Linked DNA regions of Homo sapiens: all the other regions are linked to region 1. Evidence: promoter capture Hi-C in human tissues and cell types (Jung and others, 2019). All regions are on one chromosome and are shown on one strand. The core of a region is centred on a gene start or on the middle of the fragment in contact, and the rest is flanking DNA. Distances in the headings are between cores, read along the strand shown. Region 1 holds the start of TRPA1 (transient receptor potential cation channel subfamily A member 1). Region 2 has its middle 63 kb from the start of TRPA1. Region 3 has its middle 36 kb from the start of TRPA1.

The links. The method cuts DNA at HindIII sites, captures the fragments that hold promoters and counts their contacts. A contact is called where the count stands out against the background at its distance.
Region 2: a fragment that was not itself captured here is called in contact with the fragment with the promoter of TRPA1 in region 1 in 1 of the 25 tissues and cell types used here (H1 embryonic stem cells).
Region 3: a contact is called between a fragment that was not itself captured here and the fragment with the promoter of TRPA1 in region 1, in 1 of the 25 tissues and cell types used here (H1 embryonic stem cells).

The regions. Positions count from the first base shown.
Region 1 is chr8:72,073,590-72,077,269 of GRCh38, forward strand. It overlaps TRPA1 (transient receptor potential cation channel subfamily A member 1), which reads right to left and starts at 1,995. Exons shown (of 27, transcript NM_007332.3): 1 at 1,710-1,995. The coding sequence starts at 1,820. RefSeq lists an enhancer at 1,800-2,371. The HindIII fragment of the contact is 6,537 bases long and covers 1-3,680 here.
Region 2 is chr8:72,136,509-72,140,188 of GRCh38, forward strand. No RefSeq gene overlaps it. Among named protein-coding and RNA genes, the nearest start is that of TRPA1, 63 kb to the left of the region's middle. The HindIII fragment of the contact is 3,795 bases long and covers 1-3,583 here.
Region 3 is chr8:72,109,657-72,113,336 of GRCh38, forward strand. No RefSeq gene overlaps it. Among named protein-coding and RNA genes, the nearest start is that of TRPA1, 36 kb to the left of the region's middle. The HindIII fragment of the contact is 4,383 bases long and covers 1-3,680 here.

The sequences.
Region 1 (3,680 bases), core at 745-3,244:
TCAATCTACAAACTCTATGTAGCTTCTAAAAGGCTTAAAAAACATAAGTTGCTCTACGTAGATGATAAATCTAAATAAAGACTATTAGAAACACGAAGACAAATAATTTTGAGACTCGCTGCTAAGAAATCCTTCGGCAAATATCGCTAGAAAATAAAACCACATGGGTGATTTTAGAAATTTAAAATTTCTTCCTGTACCATATTAATTGTAAAGATACTATTCCAGTGGTTGAAATCTATTTATGACTCAGTTCTCTGGAGTAAGCCAAAAGACCACAGTTATCATGCTAACATTAAGAAGGACAAAAAATGTCTGTGGCCAAACCGGACATGTCAACAGACTCACCTTGGGAGGCCTGGCTACTTGGTGTGTGTGATTAACTATACATGCCTGACTCACACACACAATTGGCAATAGTGCCAATTCCTGCAACCTGCTTAGAGAGCAATTTGTCAATTTCTACCAAAATTAAAGCTGTACATACCTCTTGACCCTGCTAGGACTTTGACATACAGACATATCCATAAAGGTACCAAGGGACAGACAGACAGAGAAGCTACATCTAAACTCACAGACATACTCTGTCACATGTGTAACAGCAAAACAAAACAAACACAAAACAGCTTAAGTGTCCATCAGTGCAACACTGGTTAAATAAATCATGATCTAGTCATACAGTGGAATATTATGAAGCTGGTAAAAAGAGTGAGGTAAATCTACAAGTGCCAATTTGAAATGTATTCAAAAATACATTTTGTGAGTAAATCAGAGTGGAAATCTGTGAGTTCTTAACTTTGCAAATAAAACAAGATCTATTAGCATGTGTGTTTTTGTGTAAGCATTTTTTTTAACCTGGAAAATTCTTAAGAAACTGTTAACATGGTCCCTCTGTCGAAAGAGATTTGTGATGAGGGTTTGGAGAGACCTTTTTAATGATGTCTCAACATTTTAAAAGAGCCCCTTTCTCCTGCTGACAATCTGATGAAATCCAGTGGTGGGCTCTGAGCACCCAACAGCCTCTATCCCTTAGACTAAGCCATCAGGTAGTAGCTAGTGCTGCCTTTAGGTCCGATAACTGCATAAGTAATAGAAGTGCCCATCCTAGAGCCTCAGGTCACTCACCCATCTTCAAAAGGTCACCTCCCCCACAGCGTTTCCTGAAGCTCCTACCCCTGGAGAAGGAATTTGCCACTCCTGCCTCCGTTTTATTGGGGACATTTTCTGCAACGCTCTAAGTGCAGACAATTGGTTTATCTGTTTCACTCTGTTAGACCAGAAGGCTTCTCAACCCCCAGAACTCTTAAATAGTTATCCAACGACTACCAGATACAGTCATTCGGCTATTTGGTTCTAAACAAAATCTACGGAAAGGTCCAAGTGAAACGGCACACATTCCAAATTGTCCTGATTTTAGGCAGCTGCCCGATCTTGTGCCAGATGATACAGATACTTTTTGAGTAGGTTTCCCTGGACTGCAGTTGCCCGTCCAGGAGCAAGAATTCGGTTGGACAAACAAGCAAACAAAATAGATAAAGCAGGCGCTGTGTGGGCGCGTCATTAGTAGGGTCACCTCTTGGATTGTGCACACACCCCAAAGCTTGCAACCCCCACGCTTTCTCCAAACCAAGGGCTGCCCCCAAGGAAACCTCCAGCCGACCCCCGCCCGCACGTCGGAACCCCTCCAGACCCGCGAGCCCCCAGAGTACCTTAAGCGATTCCTTGAAATCCTCCGTGTCGTCCGGCACATCCTCATAGACAACGCCCTGGGGCTCCTTCTTTTCTCCAGGGCGCCACATCTTCCTCAGGCTGCGCTTCATTGACCCCACCCCGGACGCCACCTGGTGCAGCTGCTCACCACGCGCGCGGGCACCTGGGGCGAGAGAGCGCTGTCAGCCTGCCAGGCGCTGGGGTCCGCGCGAGCCCGAGCTCTCCCGCGCTGCAGCTCACAGGCAGCGAAAAAGTCGCTCTGCGGAAGCCCTGGAGAACTTCTGGAAGGAGTTCTCAGGCCCGCGCTACTTTTGTAGTGCAGGAAGCAGGCGGGGCGCGGAGAGGAGGTAGAAACGCGGAGCTCCTTCGCAAAGAGGGCGGCGGCGCCGCGTCTGCCTTGGACTCGCCCCTTCAGGGACAAAGTGACTCGCCCGTCCCGCTGTCCTGCAGCTGCAGCAGCGCACTGACGGAGTCAAGCGTGTCAGGTCGGGGTGGATTGCAGAGAATTTGTTATAATAAACTAAGAGGCCCCTTGCCCTGCCCCCCAACCTTGCATGTGAGTGTGTGTGTGTGTGTGTGTGTGTGTGTGTGTGTGTGTGTGTGTGTGTTGGGTGGAGGGTGGGGGGTGTAAAGAGAGAGGAAGAGGGAATGACTGGGTATATTGGAAAGATTTTTAGTTTTCAGGAGTTTTTTCTAACTAAAATCCTACAGACCTGTGTTTCCCACCACGTGCACCTTCTTCTGGCGGCCTCTTTGATTTGGAAATAACGTTTTTAACAAAACTTCTCATTCCAAACGTTTGGGACAATAGCTACATCCTAGCACTGGTTTGAGGGACTAGATTAAGTCCCTGTGAATATCAGGTCTCATTTCCTGTGGATAATAACAGTGATCCCCCTCACACTTTGGTGTTTAAGGGTGGTTAATAAAAAGGTGAGGTTAAACGTAAGCCACTGCTGACTGGTGCAAGTTTGTTTGCCCCCAGCTTCATTTGAGAGACTTATATTTATAGGACTGCTCTTCATTAAGTGTCAATCGAAGTGTCTCAATCGAAGAGGCTGGTTCTACTTTTACGTACAGACAAGGGAACTGTCTGGTACAGACAAGGGAACTGTTGCCGTAAGTTCAGGTTTACAAGGCTAGAACGCAAGAAACCTTTCTAAGGCTGATTATACCTTGCACAGGACAGAATGTAGCTTTGACAGTCTTTTGCTTTGACAGACGGTGCTTCCTGAAGGCCCTGGATTGTCGTATTCACCTGCTCATCTCCAGCACTTAACTCAAGACCCCCGTGGATCCAGGAACTGGCATAGGTGCACTCAGCAACGGTTTGTGGACTCTCTGACCTAGGGGCTGTGGTGGGCTGAGCTTAGGGCTAGGCAGAGTGGACATGATGATATTGAGGAACCATGAAAGGTCCCCCTAAATCTTCCAATGGATATGGCAGGTTGCCATCAATTCCACCCCTGGAGTGGAATTCCTTGGAAGGATAATATTGAACTTAACCACATCATGAGTCCATGAGTATGGCTTGCTGGAGGATACAGGTGTTCAACTTCACCTTTGCACTCTTTTCTCATCAGCATCTGTGTTCAGGGTATGCAAGATAAGAATCAGTTGCACAACTTGCTATGATTTAGTTGAAGGAGGTAATGCATTTGGAGAAACCAATAAAGAAAAGAATCCCAGGGTTGGGTAAAAAGAATAACTCTCATTGAGCCATTGCTGCCTACCTGATATTTTCCATATACCAGTTTAATGTTTTAAAATGGAAATGCCTCATAGGAATATTAAGACTTTTTATTTTTTATCATTGATTATTTTGATCGATTGCTTTTCTCACAACACTTAGCTGGAAAGGGTCACTAAGGCAAAAACTGAATAAAGAGGATGTTCGAAGTGATCATTTTGGAAGCTGGGGCAGTGGGCATGTCATGGCAGCAAGCATCAGATGGCCCTGTTGGCCCCGA
Region 2 (3,680 bases), core at 436-2,935, 63 kb after region 1:
TTTCCAAGGCCAAAATAGTTGCTGTGTTTATTCAAACCACTCCATGCCCATCTAAAATATGTTTGATAAACGTATAGTAAGCTAGATTGATCTTGGTGAAGGAAGGCAGAACTGCTACTTACAGGTGCCACAGGATATGCGTTCAGAGTTTATATACAGCTAATTACAGATATATCCAATTTAAGGTGCTCCTAACAATTTGAAAACATTCTATGATAATTGATTTATAACAAAACACTGGACGCTAATGAAATAACTCAGATTTCATCACCTTATTTCCACTAGAATCTTCATCTTGTCTGCCCACTGCATCCATGATTGCTGTTTGGCTGCTCTTCCCATCCCATTAAGGAAGCAAATAGTTTCCGAAAGTAGTTTAATTGGTGTGTAAGTCAGGAAGCCACTTCTAATTGTAGTTCAATGATGCCGTTTTAAAAGCCACGGTCTGCTGAGGGCCATCCTGGAAGAGAGGGTATTTTATCTGGTAAGGGCGAAGTAGCACATGCGGGAAGCTTTCATTACCGGTGGACTTCTTGAACACAGTAGAGTGGATACGGTATTCTATGATTTCCATAAAACATCTTCCAGAAAGTCACACATAAAAAATCGAAGCAAATAAACAGAAAACCAATTATCAACTACTTCAAAATCATGTTACCTCTAAATCCATAAATATTCTTCCATAATAGAAATGAAGAAGATAAATATATACATTTTTAGAGATTATGAGAAAATTTCCCTTTATAAATGGGGGAAGTATATGTAAGTGATTTATTGTAATTATATAATAATAAACTATCTTTGACTTTCTTGACCATTCTGTTTCTAGGTGACCAGGCTTCACTCCTGCAAATGCCCAGAAAGTAGGGATGCCTGGTGAATGAACGTCTTTATGAGGAAGAGGAAGGTGCTGTAGTCAGTCAGGCTTTGCCAGGCCTTGGTGATATCGAACCCAACATAAAGTCAAAAGAGTCCTGTGATTTGGCCTACCAACTCGGCACCTTCTTTCCATTCAGGGTGTTAGTAATAAAAAACTGAAAAAATGACGCCCGTACTCCTGCTGATGTCCAGCTCAGCAGTTATTAACATATGTATGGTCCCCAAATGCCTCACAGTGAGCCCTGTACATAGTAGTGGCTCAACATATAGTTGTTAATTTCCTGATCTGACCTGTGGTGCACGCCACAGGAGTGTGGTTGATGTGCCACTCCATTCAAGGCACACTTTCATTGGTCTGCGCCCCGCCTTCCCGCCCCAGGTCAACAGAATCTTGAATGCAAATATCTCTAATAGTGCTTAGAATGTACTATAGCAACAGCAAGAAGCAGCTGAGAATGACTGACCTCACTGCATGAAATGAGATTGATGGACAGTTCTCTATGCAGTTACCTTAACTATGGATAGAAATAAGGTAGATAGAGGAATAGACAAGTAAATATGAGTAGAAATAAAGCAATTAGAATTAATTAAAATGTTTCTACCTATTATTTCTTTTTCTTTCTCTCCATACAATACTTAATAAATGCTATACAATGATGTTCTGGTAGTTAGTTTTTAATTCTTCCCAAGGAACTGAAGAAACAGGTGTGTTGGTTTCCTAGGGCAACCATAAACAAAGTGCCACAACCTGGGTGGCTTAAACAACAGAAATCTATTGTCTCACAGTTCTGGAGAAAAGAAATTCAAAACTTATTCTGAGACGTTGGTAGGGTTGGTTCCTTCTGAAGGCTAGGAGGGAGAATCTATCCCATGCCTCTCTCCTAGCTTCTGGTGGGCTGCTGGCAATCTTTAATGGTCCTTCATTTGTAAAAGCATCACTCTGATGATTTCTGCCTTTCCCTTTACATTGTGTCCTCCCTATGTGATGTCTCTGGGTCCAAATTTCCCCTTTTTATAAGAATGCCAGTCATATTAGATTAGGGGCCATCCTACTCCAGCAGGACCTCATCTTAGCTAATTACGTCTGCAATGACCCTATTTCCAAATAAGGCCTCTTTCTGAAATATGGAAAGTTAGGACTTTAGCCCACATATTTGGGGGGACCACAGTTCAACCCATAACAGCAGATATGCTTAAGCAAAGTGTTCTCACCTTTCCTGTGCTACATTGTGTCCAGATCCCACTGATACTTCACTGTTTGTCTTACGCTATTCTTGTCCTGTGTAAAAGTGCCCTGGGATGGTTATTACTTTGCTAGGGACTTCATTGTAATTGATAACTCTAGGCCAGGCAAATGCCAGGCTTTAAAAGTAGTCTTCATCAATTCTGTGTAAAGGAGGTTGCCCTTCAGCCATGCTGTCTGGGTGTCCACCGCCTGTCATGTGTTAGGTGAAAAAGACTTCTCTAGGTGGTTGTGTCCTGTGAGAGCTCTTCTCTGTGTCTTCCTCTGCTTTTTTGTCCCAGTGTTGTGCTGGCTGCCAAGGGTAACGGCCAGATTGATGTGGACAGGCTCCTTCACTGCCCAGAAATGCACTCTGATAGGTGTACTGACCTTGATCATTGACCATGGACTTTTAACATTTTACAGCGCTACACCCAGCCACATGGTCTGCATGGACGCTATTCAGTAAAACTGCCAGATTGGTCATAACCCTTTGATTTAGACATTTAAAACTAAGTTTCTCATTCACCTTGCAAAGGTGCCACATTCCCCGATTTGTCACTAAGCATGTAAGTAAAAATAGAAATTCAAAAACTTTACAAAGCTAGGTTAACGTATGTCCCTGGGCTTCCCTTTATCTATGTAACCTATGACCCTGTCACAACTAAAAGTAAAATTGCTTACGTATCATATTCTTCCCAAAAGCTTCTACTAGCTGGATGTAATGAAAGTTTAGTTTACATTTGTCATTTAGGTAATAATCAATAATATTTATTAAGCTCACACTAAGTTAATAATTAAATAGTAGAATTTCAATTATCTAGACTTCTTGGAGGATAAGTCAATCCAGAGAGCTGAATTTCTGGATGACTATTATCATTTTCACCCCAACATAAAGAATTAAGTAAATAAATAACCTTTGGATATAATTTTTTCCTGACTAACTTTTATGTTTTGACACTTACTTTAAAAACCACTTACTTACTTTTTTATTAAAAATATGTTCTTAACATATTCTTTTCTGAATTTTATTATAAATTTTATTATAGCCCGTATCAATCAAAATATATGACTATTTGCCCCTACGCTAATCAACAAAACTTCCATTTCTTTTTTTCAGATGTTGGGTCTTCATATATACCCATTGATATGGTTTGGATCTGTGTCCCTGCACAAATCTTGTGTCAATTGTAATCCCCAGTGTTGAAGGTGTGGCCTGGTGGGAGGTAATTGGATATTGGAGGTGGTTTCTCATGAATGCGTTAGCAGCATCCCCCTAGTACTGCCCTTCTGGCAGAGTTCTCACAAGAGCTGGCTGGTTAAAAGTGTGTGGCACCTCCCCACTCTTTCTCCTCCTCCTGCTCCTGCCATGTAAGATGACTGCTCCTGCTTTGCCTTCCACCATGAGTAAAAGCTCCCTGAAGCAGATGCTGCCATGCTTCCTGAACAGCCTGAAGAACTGTGAGCCAATTGAACATCTTTTCTTTGTAAATTACCCAGTCTCAGGTATTTCTTTCTTTTTTTTTTTTTTTTCGAGACAGAGTCTTGCTCTGCCACCCAGGCTGGAGTGCAATGGTGT
Region 3 (3,680 bases), core at 730-3,229, 36 kb after region 1:
CTGTAAATCATACATTCTCATTGTGTCATATATGCTAATGTGTGAATATGCCACCATTTAGTTATGCATTTAACTATTGATAGACATTCAGAATTTTCAGGATTTTTGCTGTTACAAATAGTGGCACTGTGAAAATTCTATTTCATATCCTTCAGTGAGCATATGCTTATGATTGTTTGTTGAATATATACCTAAAAATAAGTTATTGGGTCATAGGTTATTATATTTTCAGTTATATTAGACACCACTAAACTGTTTACCAAAGGAGCTATACAAATTTATATTCATATCTGCATTAAGTGTTCTACTTTCTCCACAACTTTGTCAACACTTGGTATTTTCCATATTTTTCATTTTTTATTTCTGGTAGGAGTATTGTGATGCCACATTGTGGTTTTATTTTGCAATTCCCTGACAGCAACAAAGTTGAGTATCTTATTATACTCAATTATGTAACTTATTATACTCAGGGTATTTGGATATTCTCTTTTATAATGTACATAATGTATGTACATAACGTATGTTTAAATATCAATATTTTCTCTTTGGATGTGTCTATTTTTTAAATTGATTGGTAAAAACTCTTCATATGTTCTGGATACAAGTTTTTTTCAGGTATATGTGAGAGAATATCTTTCTCCATTCTGTGGGTTGTCTTAATGGTGTCTTAATATACAGAAATTCTTGATTTTAACATAGTCCCCTTTATCAACGTTTTCCTTTATCTTTAATGCTTTTCATGTAGTATTTTAAAAAACCTTTGCCTACTCCAAGTCACAAAGATGACTTCTTACATTTCTTTCTAAAAACTTTGATATTTTTCCTATCACATATAGATGGATAATCTATATGAAATTGATTTTTATATATGCCATGAGATAGGGAAAGTACATTTGTCCTTCATATGAACATCTAATTAACCCAGCACCATTAAGTTATTTTTGTCAGGTGCATTACTAGTTCAGTTTTGTCATAAACCAGGTGTCTAAATATCTGTAGATTTATATCCTGATTGTGTATTCAATCCTCTTGTTCACTTTGCCTACTTTTACATCACTGTATTAACACTGAATTAATACTGTTGATGGAACTTTAATGTCTTCATCTGTTAACTTCTATATCTAAGATCATTCATGAGTCAACTGTCTGTTTAGAAATTGTTGATTGCATGTGAGACATTTGGTATTAAAAAAAAAAACATAAAGGCTCTAGTTAATGTAAGTCTCCATAAAAGAGGTTCCCCTATTTCCTTTCTTAGAAAGGTAGGTAGAAAGAATGAACATCTCAATTCCATCAGGAATTGTGCCAAGTCAGAGTTGAGTTGCAGTTTTAAGAAGATGCAGTTTAGGTATGATTCATGTCTATTTTAAAGACATGTAATTTCCAGGATCTTAATTGAGATATTTTTGTTGCTTGCTTCCTTGCTTTTGAAACATTGTAGATTGATTTCTGGCATCAGAGATAGTCAATTGACCTCTTTAGGTCCTTATCTCACATGGAATTAAATTTTGGTGAGTATCTTGAGGAGTATTGGCAGGCATATTTTAGGTGTAAAACTACTGAATCTCCCTCTCTGCTCTTTAGAAGTGTTTTGCATTCCTCCTCAGCCTCCTGTACAGACAGACCTAGAACTCACAAAATGACCTGTGAGAAAATTTTTAATGCAATTAAACCCCTTAAATTTCCAATTCATTACTCTAGCTCCACGTAACCACTGAAAGCTTTGCCGGTGTGAATCATTCTACTTTCTACCTCCATGAGATCAACTGTTTTAGCTCCCACATCTATACCTGTGTTTCCATACATGGCTTATTTCACTTAACATATTAACCTCCAGTTCCATCCATGTTGCTGCAAATTACATGATTCAATTATTTTTTATGGCTAAATAGTATTCCACTGTGTATATATACACCACATTTTCTTTATCCATTTGTTCACTGATGGATACAGGTTGATTTCATATCTTAAATATGGTGTAAGGGGGATAAAGAGATGTTGATTAATGGGTGCAAACATACAGTTAGAAGGAATAAATTATAGCAGAGTAGAGTAACTATAACAACAATATAGTGTATACTTCAAAATAACTAGAAAATACCGCAAATATTCTGACTTGATCATTACACATTCCATGCATGTAACAAAATATCACATGTGCCACATAAACATGCACAAATACTATGTATCAATAAAAATAAAAAATAAGTAAAAGGTATAAGATTTAAAAAGCTTGTTTTTTTAATAACAACTTTTTCCAAGAAAAATAAAAATAAGAAAGCATGTTACACTTCCCGTAAATAATGAAACACAGCTTTTAGTCATACACATTTGAATGTATCTATAAATTATCAGAATAAAAAGTCTTTCCCCTTCCAACGTTTCTGGAATGCTACTATTTTAACTTTGCTAAATAATTTTTGGTGTACATAGTTTTGCCTTTTTCCCAAAAGTATAGTGTAATGCAGTAGGACAAAATAGTTGTCAAATACGTTGAGTCATTTATTAAAGTTATGACTCAGCTTTAGAAAGAAAAATTGCAGCTGAGAGCATTTTGGGAGGACAAGGCAGGTGAATCACCTGAGGTCAGGAGTTTGAGACCAGCCTGGCCAACATGGTGAAATCCCGTGTCTATTAAAATACAAAAAATTAGCTGGGCATGGTGACAAATGCCTGTAATCCCAGCTACTTGGGAGGCTGAGGCAGGAGAATTGCTTGTACCCAGGAGGCGGGCTTTGCCATGAGCCATGATTGCACCATTGCACTCCAGCCTGGGCAACAGAGGGAGACTCTGTCTCAGAAAAAAAAAAAAATAAAGACAAAAAAAAAAAAAATAAAGAAACCACAATTCCACACAACACACATATCAGGACATCTGCCACATCTTGGGCACTTTCAGCACAGCCAAGGTTTGCCCTGTATGTGACCTCTGCAATTACAGCTTTTTGGTCTGGAGAAAAGAATTTAAGGGCAATGAAATCATATGCTGAAAGGTGAAAAAAATTGACTATGTCCATCATATTACTTCTTACAAAATGTGAATTTATAAAATTACCAAGAGCATAAAGTATTGAGCAGTTGATGTGGAAGCAAAATATATTCAGAGTCAAATCCTGAAATGAAATCTAAGAGGCCATATCAATGGGTGAGGGGTTTGATTTAGCCATGTCAGGCTATCGAAAAACAAAAGAAAACAGAAACTTTGAAAAGCAGAGAGTGCTCAAAGGTTTTCAAACATTTTTTTTTTCTGGCGGTACCAAACATCTTTCAAATAAAGTTCACTCAGAATCTCAGTATGTATGCACAAAAGGCAAACACAAAATTACTCTGGTTGAAGCAAGTATCAAGGGTCTAAAGCCCTTTTCCAAACATCTTTCAATGTACCACATCAGCCCCTCCAGGGTTGTAATGGAAAGGTACAACTTTACAAAGAACACACTTCATACACTGAGGTGGAGAAAAGAAACACAGAGCAAAGTATGATACTAGTTAGTGTTGAGAGAGTACTAGGGAATGGAGCTACTGCCAAGAGAAGCAGGACACAGTTTGAGAACCTATTGCGTGGTCCAGGAGATTGCTGGAGACTTTGTTCTCTCAGTAGACTCCAGCTCCCACTATCTTCCTAGTTCCTACTTCACTTCCAGGTCAAGCATGTTCTAAAACAAACTTCAATTTGCTTG